2 separate regions of the Homo sapiens genome follow, and region 2 is linked to region 1. The links are contacts of gene promoters, found by promoter capture Hi-C in human tissues and cell types (Jung and others, 2019). All regions are on one chromosome and are shown on one strand. Each heading gives the region's core, a stretch centred on a gene start or on the middle of the fragment in contact. The rest is flanking DNA. Distances are from core to core; before and after follow the strand shown. Region 1 holds the start of OXTR (oxytocin receptor). Region 2 overlaps LMCD1-AS1 (LMCD1 antisense RNA 1).

What was found. The method cuts DNA at HindIII sites, captures the fragments that hold promoters and counts their contacts. A contact is called where the count stands out against the background at its distance.
Region 2: a contact is called between a fragment that was not itself captured here and the fragment with the promoter of OXTR in region 1, in 1 of the 25 tissues and cell types used here (stomach).

What each region holds. Positions count from the first base shown.
Region 1 is chr3:8,768,363-8,775,858 of GRCh38, reverse strand. It overlaps OXTR (oxytocin receptor), which reads left to right and starts at 6,246. Exons shown (of 4, transcript NM_000916.4): 1 at 6,246-6,628; 2 at 7,268-7,363. RefSeq lists enhancers at 6,082-6,131, 6,779-7,450. The HindIII fragment of the contact is 11,538 bases long and covers 1-7,496 here.
Region 2 is chr3:8,433,665-8,441,160 of GRCh38, reverse strand. All of the region lies in intron 3 of LMCD1-AS1 (LMCD1 antisense RNA 1), which reads left to right. Among named protein-coding and RNA genes, the nearest start is that of LMCD1-AS1, 64 kb to the left of the region's middle. RefSeq lists an enhancer at 1-374. The HindIII fragment of the contact is 5,752 bases long and covers 490-6,241 here.

The DNA of each region.
Region 1 (7,496 bases), core at 4,997-7,496:
GGCCTGTCCCTGCTCCTCTTGTGCTTTGCTCCAGCCACGCTGACCTCCTTTACCAGCTGTGTGGCCTTGGGCAAATGCCTTCCCCTCTCTGAACCTCGGTTTCCTCATCTGTAAAACAGGCATTGTAATAATCCCAATCATTCTGTTTGTTATGAAGCTAACAACCACTTTTAAATGACTCTCAACTCTTTCAGGCTCTACTTCTCCAAAAGACGTTACATATTCCAAGGATCCTGCGTCTCAACAAACCCTTTCTTCTGCAAAAGAACAGCCTGCTTTTATTCCAAGCTCTGAGATTCCTTATAGGAAGCTGTTTCTCTCCAGTTATGCCATGTTATGCCTTAACCTGGGCCAACAGTGCCTACACACGGAGAATGCAATGGTTGAGGCCAATTCATTAACAGGGATTGTTTAGCCACATCCGTTGTTAATTGACAACATGTCTATGGAATTAGAAGCCTCGTGTTTATCTCTGTCATCGCTTTCTCTCGGGGAGAATGGCACACAGGGATCAACAACATCCTTTCTCACAAAGAGCCCTCCTTCAACTTGATTTTCATAAAAATACCATTCTAGGAAGCAGGGGTCTGAGTCTGGTGACTCATTTGCTAAGGGGTGTTCTTGGGTAATCCATCAGCCATTTTCTCAACACATTTTCATTCATAGGCATGCATGATAGGAAAATGATGGGCAAATATAGAAAGGACTGTGATATATGGGACTAATTCTAGGCACTTATAACTGGATTGGGAAGACTGAGCACATTCATACTGTAAATATAGTTTTTGGTCATGCTAGAGAGGTTCAGAAAATAATGATTTCTCAGTGGGCCAGGGTGGTCAGGAAAGGCCTCCCTGAAAGGTAAAGAGTCAGTATCCCCATCTCACCAGTTAGGGTTCAAAGGAGTTACTTTCCTTGCCTGGCACAGTGACATTCCCCCTACCTTCCAAGATGCAGTTTGTCTGATTAAATTGAAAATATTATGAACTCCATCCAGAAAGACTAATAAGATGGAGGTTGATTGGATCAGACACTATTTTCATGGAGTGGTCCTGGGGTCAGGATTGTCAGCATGGGAATAAAGATTTGATTGTATAGTTCTCTGCTGTTTGTGAAGCACTCTTCATGTGCATTAAGTTTGGTTTATACACACAGCCTCATGTGATCAGCACCTGGGGAAACCAAGTCTCAGAGAAGTTCAGTACCTTAGCCACGCTGACAAAACGTGGTAAAATCCAGATGCTAGCAAGCACTTACTGCTGCAGATTCAGAGCTCTCTCCAATAGGAAAGCACATTTTTCTCTCTTTCTCCACCCTGCATGGAACACAGGAATGAAAACAAAGGCTGGGAAGTCCAAAATCACACAGGCTAGAAGGAATCCGTGCAAGTTCTACCTATAAGCAGTGGCCTCCTGACACAGCATCCTGGCACGGCCTCAGGAACTTCCCAGGTCAGCCCATGTGCCCTGATGTGCCTGCATCCGCACAGAGCTATAAATGTAAGAAGATCAAGTGTGCCAGCAGCAGGCTGATTGCTACAATGTGTTCTCAGCCTTTATGCCTGAGAGCATGTCACTGACCCCCCTCCTGGAGCTAGGAGCCCAAGCAGAGGCTGAGAAGTTATTTGGGGGCAGGCTGGGGAGGCGGTGATGTTAGGGAGGGGGTAGGTTGGATGTGTTTATAGCTCATTTCCACTCTGACAATAGAGCAAAGGCCGCTTGGGCTTGGATCCATGTTGAAATAAATGTGCCAGGGCTGGAAAATTCCCAAGATGCTAAAACTCAGACCCAGTTCCCAGAGGCAGAAGTGGGTACAGGACAGGTCATTCTCTGGGCAGGATACCTTCCCCAGAGGGCCTGGTTCTGCCCATGGAGATGTTTATTTCTTCCCTCCTTTCCCCCTTCCTTTTATCCTTCTGTATTTAACAAATACCTGAAAGGTGCCTATTCTATAGTGACCTAGGCCTTTCGAAGTACAGGTATAGACAATATTGGCCCCACCTTTAAGATGCTTGGATACAAGAAAAAAACAACCCCATTAAAAAGTGGGCAAAGGACGTGAACAGACACTTCTCAAAAGAAGACATTTATGTGGCCAACAAACGTATGAAAGAAAGGTCAACATCACTGATCATTAGAGAAATGCAAATAAAAACCACAATAAGATACCATCTCATGCCAGTCAGAATGGTGATTATTAAGAAGTCAAGAAACAACTGATGCTGTAAAGGATCTGGAGAAATAGGAATGTTTTTACACTATTGGTGGTAATGCAAATTAGTTCAACCATTGTGGAAGATGGAGTGGCAATTCCTCAAAGACCTAGAACCAGAAAGACCATTTTACCCAGCAATCTCATTACTGGGTATATACCCAAAGGAATATAAATCATTCTATTGTAAAGATACCTGCACATGTATGTTCACTGCAGCACTATTCACTATAGCAAAGACATGAAATCAACCCAAATGCCCATCAATGATAGACTGGATAAAGAAAAAAATGTGAGATATATATATATATATCTATATCTATATAATCTATATATAGATATATATAGATTATATAGATATAGATATATATAGATTATATATATATAGATTATATAGATATATATAGATTATATAGATATAGATATATATAGATTATATATATATAGATATATATAGATTATATATATATAGATATATATAGATTATATATATATAGATATATATAGATATATATATATATAGATATATATAGATATATATGCCATGGAATACTATGCAGCCATAAAAAGGAACAAGATCATGTCCTTTGCAGGATGGATGGAGCTGGAAGCCATTAACCTCAGCAAACTAATACAGGAACAGAAAACCAAACACCACATGTTCTGACTTATAAGTGGGAGCTGAATGATGAGAACACAGACACAGGGAGGGGAACAATACACACTGGGGCCTGTCACGGGGGCAGAGGGAGGGAGAGCATCAGGAAAAATAGCTAATATGTGCTAAGCTTAATACCTAGGTGATGGGTTGATAGGTGCAGCAAACCACCATGGCACACATTTACCTATGTAACAAACCTGCACATACTGCACATGAACTCCAGAACTTAAAATAAAAAAAAAAAAAAGATGCCCGGATACTCAGACAGATGAAGACATTTGTAAATCAGGGATTGCTGAATCTCTGTCTGTGATGGTTCATTTTGTGTGTCAGCTTGGCTGGGCCATGGTGCCCAGATATTTGGTCAAATATTATTCGGGATGTTTCTGTGAGGGTATTTTTGGATGAGATTAACATCTGGAACAAAGTAGATCACCCACCATAACGTTGGTGGGCTTATCCAATCAGTTGAAGGTCTATATGGAACAAAAGACTGACCTCCCTGAGCAAGAAGGAATTCCGCAGCAGAGGACCTTTGGACTTGACCTGCAAAATCAGCTCTTCCCTGGGTCTCCAGCCTGTCAGCTCACTCTGAAGATTTTGGACTTGCCAGCCTCCATAACACATGAACCAATTCCTTAAATGAATCTCTTTCTCTACATATATACATCCCAATGGTTCTGTTTCTTTGGAAGACCGAAAGACACCCTGTAATGTCACATCTTTTGTCCATGCCTACAGCATCTCTTGCCTGGATCTCCAAGGCCTTCATAATGCCAGTATCTCCTTTCCCATCTTCCCTGTGGCTACCAGCATTCTCTCACCAAGCACAGATTTGAGTACGTTGTTTTGCTTGCAGTCCTTCCAGGCACCCCACCTTCCCCACCAATGCCTTCTAACCTCAGTCATCTTTACACTAGCACCTTCATGATTTTTGTTATATCAGACTTTCTCTTTGCTGACGTCAAAAGTAAGCAGAACTGAGAACTGAATTTCCTCCCTGTTATTCAGTATCACTCAATATTAAATTCACATTTAACACTATCAGAAAGTATTCCATCCCATATTTTGGGGAATGTTGGGTTACAGAATAAAACCCATTCTCCTTTACATGGCCTTGAAGTTCCTTTAGCATCAATAAGTACAGTTATCTCTTGGTATCCATGGGGGATTGGTTCCGGGAGCCTTCAAGGTACACAAATCCCTGATATAAAATGAAGCAGTATTTGCATATAACACGTGCATATCCTCTCACATACTTTAAGTCATCTCAAGATTACTTGTAACACCTAATGCAATGTCACTCGTCACTGCATTTGTGTGCATTCAGTGTTGTAGGTGGCACATGACAAATTCAATTTTTGCTTTTTGGAACTTTGAGGATTTTTTTTCCTGAATATTTTCAATCCATGATTGTTTGAATCCACTGAACTCACAGATACAGGGATATAGAGGGCCAACTGTATGTATTAAGTGCTGGCAATGTGCTAGGCACCAAGCAATTCATCTTTAGTCCTTCCTCCAAAACGCCAAAGTGATTCCCCTGCACCACTCTCTGAGAAGTATGCCTTTTTTCTTTGCTTCCTGGAGAACTCATTCTGGAGCTCTGAAATCCAGCTACCTCTTTGTAAAACGATCTCCCAAGTATTACCTCAGCCCCCAGCAGTCCTCACTTCTGTAACATCATTTATTGTTGTCACACTGCAAATATTAGGTTGATGCAAAAGTAATTGCAGTTTTTGCCATTATTTTTAATAGCAAAAACCACAATTACTTTTGCACCAATCTAATATGTGTTTTTCTCCCTGGCCGAAGCTCAAAGGTGAAGGAGCATGTCTTATTCATTGTTAGGAGTTTTCAAGGGGACCTCTCTATTTCCTGCCTGGTTTCTGCACACAATGAGAAATAAAACAAAAGACAGGAAATGGGGATCACACTATTACTGTTGTTGTTATTGTTGTTGTTTAGATTAAAACTAAGTTAGAGAATTTACCTTTTGCATGAGACTAAATAGCCCTGTTAGGTGAATCCAGAATTAGGCTGTCTCACGGGCTACGCGAGGACCACACAGGTAGGCAGGCTTCCCTACAAAGGGTAGAAGAGTCTGTCCTTGGTGAAGTGGCTCAGTAAACTTGCTCCCTAGAAAGCAGCTGTCTTCCAGGAGAAAGAAGGGCAGGCTTGGTTCTACAGGCCAGTGTTTTCCTTCTCACATTCACCGGTCAGGGGCTCATAGGGAAAAATCTGCCTTCATCCAGCCGTGGAGTGAGGCAGGGGTGTTTTACCTGCTAGGATTGAACCCTCAGATTGCACAGATTATACAGTTTCAGAAAACCAGAGGGACAGGACCTCAGACATTAGCTATCTTGACCAGTGCTCTCATTTTACATATGAGGAGACTGAGGCCCAAAGAGAAGGGGCTTGCCCAAGGTCACTTCATTCTCACCTGAGTCGTCTGTAACTTTAATCTGTAATTTTCGAGGCCGATAGGTACTATTGACTAATATTGATTAATACTGCCTGCCACCCCTTGGCAATGCTGTCAAGATTCCCAGCCCCATTCTGGAATGATTACTCAGCTAGAACCCTGGGATCCAGGTGCTGTAAGGTTGGCCCCTGGGATATCTCGGCATGGGGCTGTAATTGTGGATTAAGGAAACCCAGTCCTTGGCTAACTCAAGTCTCTCCACATAATAAAAAGACGGAGAAGTGAAATGTCAGGAGGAAATACACATTTAATGCATTTTAAAGAGCCCTGTTTATTTTTGAATCCTGGCCTTTTTTTCTGACTTAATTCTTGGCCACTGTAAATTACTTCAAAAAATGATTTTAGAATAGAGAAGGGGCAGGGAGGCTGAGAAGCTGTCTTTAACATTTTATCTTCCTTTGGCATCATTTAGAATTTTAATTCCGAAGCGCGACAAGGAGGCAGAAACGGCTCTTGGGCGCAGACAAGCAGAATCACTTTAAATGAAGACAGTGTTGTGCTTCAGAATTTCCTCTAAAACTACCGAAAAAATAACGCCTCTCCCAGCACTGCTTAGAATAGAGGCCATTTCTAATTCCTCATTAACGGGAATAGGAACAAAAGTATTCCAAAGCAAAGACTTATTTGAGTTCACTGCTAAAGCCGCTACATCAAGCTGGAGGTGTGGGGGGAGAGAAAAGCCTGAAAATTAACATCATTTTTGGGAAATAATCAGTTTAAATGCTTTTGTAACTTCATCACTATCTACCCGGGGAAGAACATTATTATTCAAGCCTCCTATGTGTCTCGGAGTCAAGAGCTTCTAAACCAAGAAAGGAAGAAACGGGCGGGTTATTGACGAGTTCCCTCCCTCTCGCAGTTTTAAACCACTGCAAAATAAACCCATTTGTTAAGGCTCTGGGACCAACGCTGGGCGAACCAGCTCCGCTCCGGAGGGGTCTGCGCGGCTGGCCTCGCCCGCCCCCTAGCGGACCCGTGCGATAGTGCAGCCTCAGCCCCAGCGCACAGCGCCGCATCCAGACGCTGTCCGCGCGCGCAGCCTGGGAGGCGCTCCTCGCTCGCCTCCTGTACCCATCCAGCGACCAGCCAGGCTGCGGCGAGGGGATTCCAACCGAGGCTCCAGTGAGAGACCTCAGCTTAGCATCACATTAGGTGCAGCCGGCAGGCCATCCCAACTCGGGCCGGGAGCGCACGCGTCACTGGGGCCGTCAGTCGCCGTGCAACTTCCCCGGGGGGAGTCAACTTTAGGTTCGCCTGCGGACTCGGTGCAGGTAGCTGGGTGCTAAGCAGGGGTGGACGGGATGGCTAGGGCCGGTGGAGCCATCGGGACCCGAGTGGAGGTGGTGGGGTGCCTCGCACTCCTTGTTCCTGGAGGAGCTCGGGGTGTTCCGAGAGATTGTAAAGTGACTTCTCGGGATTGAGACTCAGAGTCCTTGATTATCTGGGTCCAAAGCGCAAGTCAGGGGTTCCAGAACTTTCGAGGCTGCCGGGCTGGGGAGGAGCCCCGCGGGAGGTGTCTATGCCAGGGTCTGGGAACAGCGCTTGGGCATCTTGGGCTTTGAGGCAGGGGTTCCCCCAGCAGGGACTGCAGAACCGGGTTTCCACCGAAGCAGGTGCTGTGGAAGTTCAGGGAGTGACGGCCGACCGTCTTAGAAAAGGGGGTTAGACGGGGAAGGACCAGAGCTGGGGTTTCCCAGGCAAGTGGCTATTTGGGGATTTCCGGAGGAAGTACTTGAATTAATGTTTACTAGGAGAGGGGCTGGTTTGGGGGTCCCGCGGCAGGTGGATATGCTGAGGGTCGGAGCCTGGGGCGAGTAGGTAGTTTGGAGATTCCCTCGGGGAGGTGATTTGGTTTTAGATTCCCACTCCCGGAGGAACGTTGCTGATTTTGACCCTCCCTTCTCCCCCAGTGGAAGCCGCTGAACATCCCGAGGAACTGGCACGCTGGGGGCTCTGGGCTTGTGGCCGGTAGAGGATTCCCGCTCATTTGCAGTGGCTCAGAGGAGGTACCTCCAACGGGGATTTCTGGGGTGGCGGCTGAGCAACCCGAGGCCGGCGGTTGTGCCCTGTTGTTTCAGATGAGTTGGGTTCCTGGGAATGGGACAAGCACGCCCTACCCGCGTCGGAAGAGAAACGCGG
Region 2 (7,496 bases), core at 2,116-4,615, 330 kb after region 1:
TGGAGGGAAGGTCAGCAGATAAACAAGTGAACAAAGGTCTCTGGTTTTCCTAGGCAGAGGACCCTGCGGCCTTCCGCAGTGTTTGTGTCCCTGGGTACTTGAGATTAGGGAGTGGTGATGACTCTCAACGAGCATGCTGCCTTCAAGCATCTGTTTAACAAAGCACATCTTGCACCGCCCTTAATCCATTTAACCCTGAGTGGACACAGCACATGTTTCAGAGAGCACAGGGTTGGGGGTAAGGTCACAGATCAACAGGATCCCAAGGCAGAAGAATTTTTCTTAGTACAGAACAAAATGAAAAGTCTCCCATGTCTACCTCCTACTACACAAACACGGCAACCATCCGATTTCTCACTCTTTTCCCCACCTCTCCCCACTTTCTACTCCACAAAACCGCCATTGTCATCATGGCCCGTTCTCATTGAGCTGCCGGGCACACCTCCCAGACGGGGTGGTGGCCGGGCAGAGGAGCTCCTCACTTCCCAGTAGGGGTGGCCGGGCAGAGGCGCCCCTCACCTCCCGGACGGGGCGGCTGGCCGGGCAGGGGGCTGACCCCCCCACCTCCCTCCCGGACGGGGCGGCTGGCCGGGCAGAGGGGCTCCTCACCTCCCAGTAGGGGCGGCCGGGCAGAGGCACCCCCACCTCCCAGACGGGGCGGCTGGCCGGGCAGAGGGGCTCCTCACTTCCCAGTAGGGGTGGCCGGGCAGAGGCGCCCCTCACCTCCCGGACGGGGCGGCTGGCCGGGCAGGGGGCTGACACCCCCACCTCCCTCCCGGATGGGGCGGCTGGCAGGGTAGAGGGCTGACCCCCCCACCTCCCTCCCGGACGGGGCGGCTGGCCGGGCAGAGGGGCTCCTCACTTCCCAGTAGGGGCGGCCGGGCAGAGGCGCCCCCCACCTCCCAGAGGGGGCGGCTGGCCGGGCGGGGGGCTGACCCCCCCACCTCCCTCCCGGACGGGGCGGCTGGCCGGGTGGGGAGCTGACCCCCGCACCTCCCTCCTGGACGGGGCGGCTGGCCTGGCGGTGGGTGACCCCCACCTCCTTCCTGGACGGGGTGGCTGCCGGGTGGTGACGTTCCTCACTTCTCAGACGGGGCGGCTTCCGGGTGGAGGGGCTCCTCACTTCTCAGACGGGGCGGCCGGGCAGAGACGCTCCTCACCTCCCAGACGGGGTCGCGGCCGGGCAGAGGCGCTCCCCACATCTCAGACGATGGGCGGCGGGGCAGAGACGCTCCTCACTTCCCAGATGGGATGGCGGCCGGGAAGAGGCGCTCCTCACTTCCTAGATGGGATGGTGGCCGGGAAGAGGTGCTCCTCACTTCCTAGATGGGATGGCGGCCGGGCAGAGACGCTCCTCACTTCCCAGATGGGATGGCGGCCGGGAAGAGGCGCTCCTCACTTCCTAGATGGGATGGTGGCCGGGAAGAGGTGCTCCTCACTTCCTAGATGGGATGGCGGCCAGGCAGAGACGCTCCTCACTTCCCAGATGGGATGGCGGCCGGGAAGAGGCGCTCCTCACTTCCTAGATGGGATGGTGGCCGGGAAGAGGTGCTCCTCACTTCCTAGATGGGATGGCGGCCGGGCAGAGACGCTCCTCACTTTCCAGACTGGGCAGCCAGGCAGAGGGGCTCCTCACGTCCCAGATGATGGGCGGCCAGGCAGAGACGCTTCTCACTTCCCAGACGGGGTGGCGGCCGGGCAGAGGCTGCAATCTCGGCACTTTGGGAGGCCAAGGCAGGCGGCTGGGAGGTGGAGGTTGTAGCGAGCCGAGATCACGCCACTGCACTCCAGCCTGGGCACCATTGAGCACTGAGTGAACCAGACTCCGTCTGCAATCCCGGCACCTCGGGAGGCCGAGGCTGGCGGATCACTCGCGGTTAGGAGCTGGAGACCAGCCCGGCCAACACAGCGAAACCCCGTCTCCACCAAAAAAATACGAAAACCAGTCAGGCGTGGCGGCGCCTGCCTGCAATCGCAGGCACTCGGCAAGCTGAGGCAAGAGAATCAGGCAGGGAGGTTGCAGTGAGCCGAGATGGCAGCAGTACAGTCCAGCTTCGGCTCGGTATCAGAGGGAGACCGTGGAAAGAGAGGGAGAGGGAGACCGTGGGGAGAGGGAGAGGGGGAGGGGGAGGGGGAGGGGGAGGGAGAGGGCAGTGTGTAACCTTTGTAACTTCACTTCAGCCTCTCATCATTCATCTTTTAAGGAATACAATGACTCAGGCAAGAGATGCAGGAGGCCGCGTGCTATAGCCTGTTCAATGTTGAGAGCATTTTTCTGGAGAGCTGCATGTCATCACAGAGTCAGGGTTTTTGTGAAATTCTGCTCACAAACAAAAGGGGGCAAACTCGACTTCTTAAGTTTGGTGCTTTATCTCACACCTGGAACTCCATGACCTTCTTCCCCCTGCCTGGCAAAGTCATTCCTGGAACCTTGCCACCCACAAGCCAGTGACTCTGTGAGTCCGCCCTGCCCTGATCAGACCCAGCCAGGCACTTGTTCCTCTCGCGCCTCCAGACACTTCTTATTTCTCTTTAACTCCTTTTTCAGCCCCTCATTTAATCAACACTAATTACCAAAAACCCACTGCATATCAGGCACCTATTATACTGGATTTTAGAGTCATATATTCACATGCCTGTGTTCCCCAGTGAACAGTGAAATCTTCAACTCTCCCTTCTTCCCCATGTCCTCACTTTCTCTTTTATATTTCAGATGCCAATGCACAATTGGCACACAGCATGTTCTAAATCATTATTTTTAATACCCTTTTTCCAGTGTGAAACTCAAAAGAGTCATAAATGTGGAAAATGTCAGCCCCCTTGACCCTTGAGCAGATGAATGCGATTGGCCGCTTAGAACTGGACTGCTACCCTTAAAAGTATACCCCAGGTAGCCATGCATTTGACCAAAATTCGTAAAGCATACAAATCTATGGCTAGTTCAACTTAACATGAAATAGCAAAAGAAGCAACCAGATAGTTGGAGGAAATGTGCAATGAGTTTTTTGGGGGGGTTTAAAACTCAGGAGAATAGAAAGTTGTAGTATGGACTTTAACCATTTCATCTCCCTGCTTTAAAAAACATTAAGCTCAGCCAGGTGCAGTGGCTCACGCCTGTAATCCCAGCACTTTGGGAGGCCGAAGTGGGCAGATCACCTGAGGTCGGGTGTTCCAGACCAGCCTGGTCAACATGGTGTAACCCCGTCTCTACTAAAAATGTAAAAATTAGCCGGGCATGGTGGCACATGCCTGTAATCCCAGCTACTCAGGAGGCTGAGGCAGGAGAATCGCTTGAACCCAGGAGGCGGAGGTTGCAGTGAGCTGAGATAGCACCATTGCACTCCAGCCTGGGCGACAGAGTGAAACTCTGTCTCACAAAAAACAAACAAATAAACAAACAAACAAAAACAAAGAAAGCTCCCATTTGCAAAATACAGTGATTTTTAATTTTTTGACTGTACCTCAGTTGTAAAACAAAAAACCCAAAAAGTACAACAACGAAGAATCTCTCAGCTGTGTGTCACTTACAAATAGTCTATGTGTCTTAAATCAGTATATATTATTTCATTGTAAAGCACACACAAGTAGAAATTTAAGAATAATGAGAAAAAGTAAACATAAATAAGAGATGAATGTTTTTCTCCTATACCCCAGGGGATCATCCCAGTCCTCCTCTTGGGCCACTTTGAGAAGCACTTATTCTAAAAGGTCTGACTTTCAGTCCTGGTTGAGAGAATAAATTCACAGTACTGAAGGTCTGTCTCCTCTTAGAAGTTGTGCATTTTACCAGCAGACTTTTAATTTAAGTCCAAAGGAATGAATTTTTAATGATAAAATTTCAGACACAGCAAGGGGGCTGGAAAACTTCAGACAGAGGAAGCTTTCCTTTCTCATTAATTCTGCAAGATTTATTGAGTGCTTCCTATGTACTAGGCTCTGCACTAGGCACCAAGAATATTGCATGAACAAACATCCAAGCCTGCTTTCCTGTTGGTAGACTGGCAAACACCAGTTTCTGATCAGCCTTGTTCACAGGAGTCATTGCACTTGGTCATGAGCTCTTCAACGAAAACCCTGGAATCACTGGTTTTTACATTTTCTCCATTCCTTGCTCAGTGAAATATCCCTCGGGGGTGTCACAAATGCACATTTCTCAAGATGCTTCTCAGAATTAAAAGAACATTGGAGACGTGATGAAAGGGTGAATGGCTCGCTCAGAATTTAGCGGGGTTGCCAGACCATGACACAGATGTCCCCTAAACCATCTGGGAAACTTCAAAAACATTCTGGCTTAGTCTTCTGGGGACTTTGTGTCCCATTTATTGTGCAGAAGGAGCAAACTGTGGCCTCTGTCAGTGTTTCCGCTGGGTCCTTGAGGAGCTCTCTGTGCTGATCTGATATGTTATGGTTAGGACTGCACCAAGGGGCAGGCTGAGGAATCTCCACGACTTGATGCAGAACTTGAGCCACCCGGCAGAAATCTGGCCAAAGTGCCACAGTTCGAATTGTTTTTGGTAATAGAAGTTAGAAGAGCAATAGAGAGTGAAGAATTCCTTTGGGCATAGATGGTCATTCCCCTTTGGAAATGAAACTTTGTTAGTTACTCTAAATGGCCTGAAAATTAAATAGCTCTGTGTGTGTATGTGTGTGTGTGTGCATGCGTGTGTACGTGCTTGCTTGCACCTGCAAGTGTGGGTGGTTATGGGGACATCTGGGAGGCAGTGCAGGACACTTCTTTTTTTTGTTTTTGAGACGAAGTCTTGCTCTGTCACCCAGGCTGGAGTGCAGTGGCACCATCTCAGCTCACTGCAAGCTCTGCCTCCCAGGTTCACACCATTCTCCTGCCTAAGCCTCCCGAGTAGCTGGAAATACAGGCGCCCGCCACCATGCCCAGCTGATTTTTTGTATTTTTAGTAGAGACAGGGTTTCACCGTGTTAGCCAGGATGGTCTCGATCTCTTGACCTCATGATCCGCCCGCATCAGCCTCCCAAAGTGCTGGGATTACAGGCATAAGCCACTGCGCCCAGCCAGGACAATTTTTAAGAACCCAGAATTGCATTGAGTCCTGGCTCCACCAGTGCATAACATGAGGATTACATAAGGCATTTGGTGCCCCAATTTCTCCATCTGTAAAATGGGGCTAGTTTTGTCAGGTTTTGTAGGTTTGCAGATTTGTTGTAAAGATCAAACAATCTTATCTAGTGATTGTACAATTGATGTTTTAAGATCTCATAATTCAAATGCATCTTCCAAGCAACAATGTTACAGTAGTTTGCTAGGCCTGCTCTACAAAGTACCAGAAACTGAGAGGCTTCAACAACAGAAATTTATTGTCCCCCAGGTCTGGAGGCTGGAAGTCTGAGATCATGGTGCATGCAGAGCCACAATCCCTCTGAAGGTGCTAGAGAAGGGTCTGTTCCAGGCTTTTCTCTGAGCTTCTGGTAGCTCCTCAGTTTCTGGCAGGAGAACTCCAATCTTCACATTGCGTTCTTCGTGTGTGTGTGTGTCTTCACTTGAAGTTCTTTTCATATGAACACAAGTCACGTTGGAGTAGGGGTCTGCTCTACTCCAGTGTGACCTCATTTTAACTAATTGCATCCAATGATTTTATTTCCAAATAAGGTCAGATTCTGAGATACTGGGGATTAGGACTTCAATACAGGAATTTTGAGGGGACACGATTTAACCCATAACAAGTGTCTTACTACGATAATTCATAATAATTTTTTTCTTTTGAATTAATGACATGTCTTATAAGTTATGGCACCTCAAAGTCACTGAAAGACAGTGGATTAATCCCTATGAAGCTCTTAGCCCAACACCTGCTGTATAGTGAACACTCAATGAATGATAATAATTGTCATTACTAATACGATAGTGAGCGTGTTCTCTGTACCTCAGTTTTGTTGTCTGTAAAGTGGGAACAAGAATACCTTCTTGGGAGAATTCTTGCTGCGCTTGAAGGAGGCATTGTGTTTGCTTATGGTCAGCACTTGCTGTCATATTTAGGCACTTAGCAATCCCTTTCCTTTCTTCTTTCACAGCGTCTAGACCGGGATGCAGGCTAAGTCCACAATGCTTAGTATATTTTTATCACTCAATAACTCTATGTTGGGTGAATGAATGGTGAACGAGGTGATTGTAATGATTGGGTTTCTTTGGTTGAAAATAACAGAAATTTAAATTAAAATAGCTTAGTCAAAGAGGGGACTTCACTGGCTGATGAAACCAAACTACAGCAAGGGTGGGGATGGGACTAGCTTTGTGACAATTGGGACCAGGCACTCAGAGGCTGGCAGGGTTTCCTTGTTCTTCATCTCTCTCTCTCTCTTTGTCTGCACGATGGCTTGAATTTCTCTTCCTGGGTGCGATTCCTTCCACATCGTGTGGCCATGGCTGCCTGAAGACCTCTACCCTCATCCTGAGAGCTTACCAGACAGAGTGGAGGGCTTCTAGATTCCTCTAGAAAAATGTCAAGGAAGGACTCTGATTGGTCTGAGGAGACTGGATAAAAGCTCATCTCTTCCACCCAAATCCATGTAGACTGAGACACTACAATTAATTCTTCCAAAAACATAGTACAGTGATGGCCACTGGGGAAATATGGTGTGGACACCCACCTTAGCCAGTGCCACCTACAGCAGTGAGGATTGAAAAATTGAAGCTAGGAGACATCACAAGGCAACACTGGTCGCTGATAGCCATTATGTGCTTATTTGCTTATTCAACAACTTTATTAAGTGCCTGCCCCTTCCCAGGCTTTCATCCAGGGCCATTATGTGCATTATTTAATCGAGCCTTACAATTCTGTCAGATGGGTAGAGTAATAGTGAACTAGTGAGGTGACCCACATGTAGGGAGTTAAAGTACCTTGTCCCAGGTGACCCTGATAACAAATGGCAGAGCTAGGCTATAATCCAGCTAAGTCTTTGGAAGATTTGGATTATGGCTTCACCACCCATGGTCTCTGTGACCTTGATCCCTCAGTTTTCTTATTTTTCTCATTAGTAAAATGAGGATTGTCACAGGACCTATATGATAGGTTACAAAAATTGACTGAGATAGCTCGTGTACAGGGCTTGTCATAGAGTGTAGCCCATAGTAAGAGCCAGATTTATATATCACCTATTGTTGTGTTTTGGTTGTTGTTGTTAGTACTTTACTATTATATATTCTCCAAATCCCTGTGCTTCTCTCTGTGCTTAAAAGTGTTACATGTAAGTAGCAGAGAGGCAAGTGGTGTAAGACTTGCAGAGGAAAATGTTATTCAGAAGGAGGTGGTCAGGGAGGACTTCCTGGGTGTCATGGTCCCCTGCAAATTCATATATTGAAACCTCCAAGGTGACTATATTAGGAGGCGAGGTCTTTGACAGGTGATTAGGTCATGAGGGCTGACCTCTAATAAGTGGTGTTAGTGCCCTTTTAAAAGAGGCCTGAGAGACACCCATCACCCTTCTTCCATCTTATGAGGACAGAGTGGGAAGGTGCCATCTAT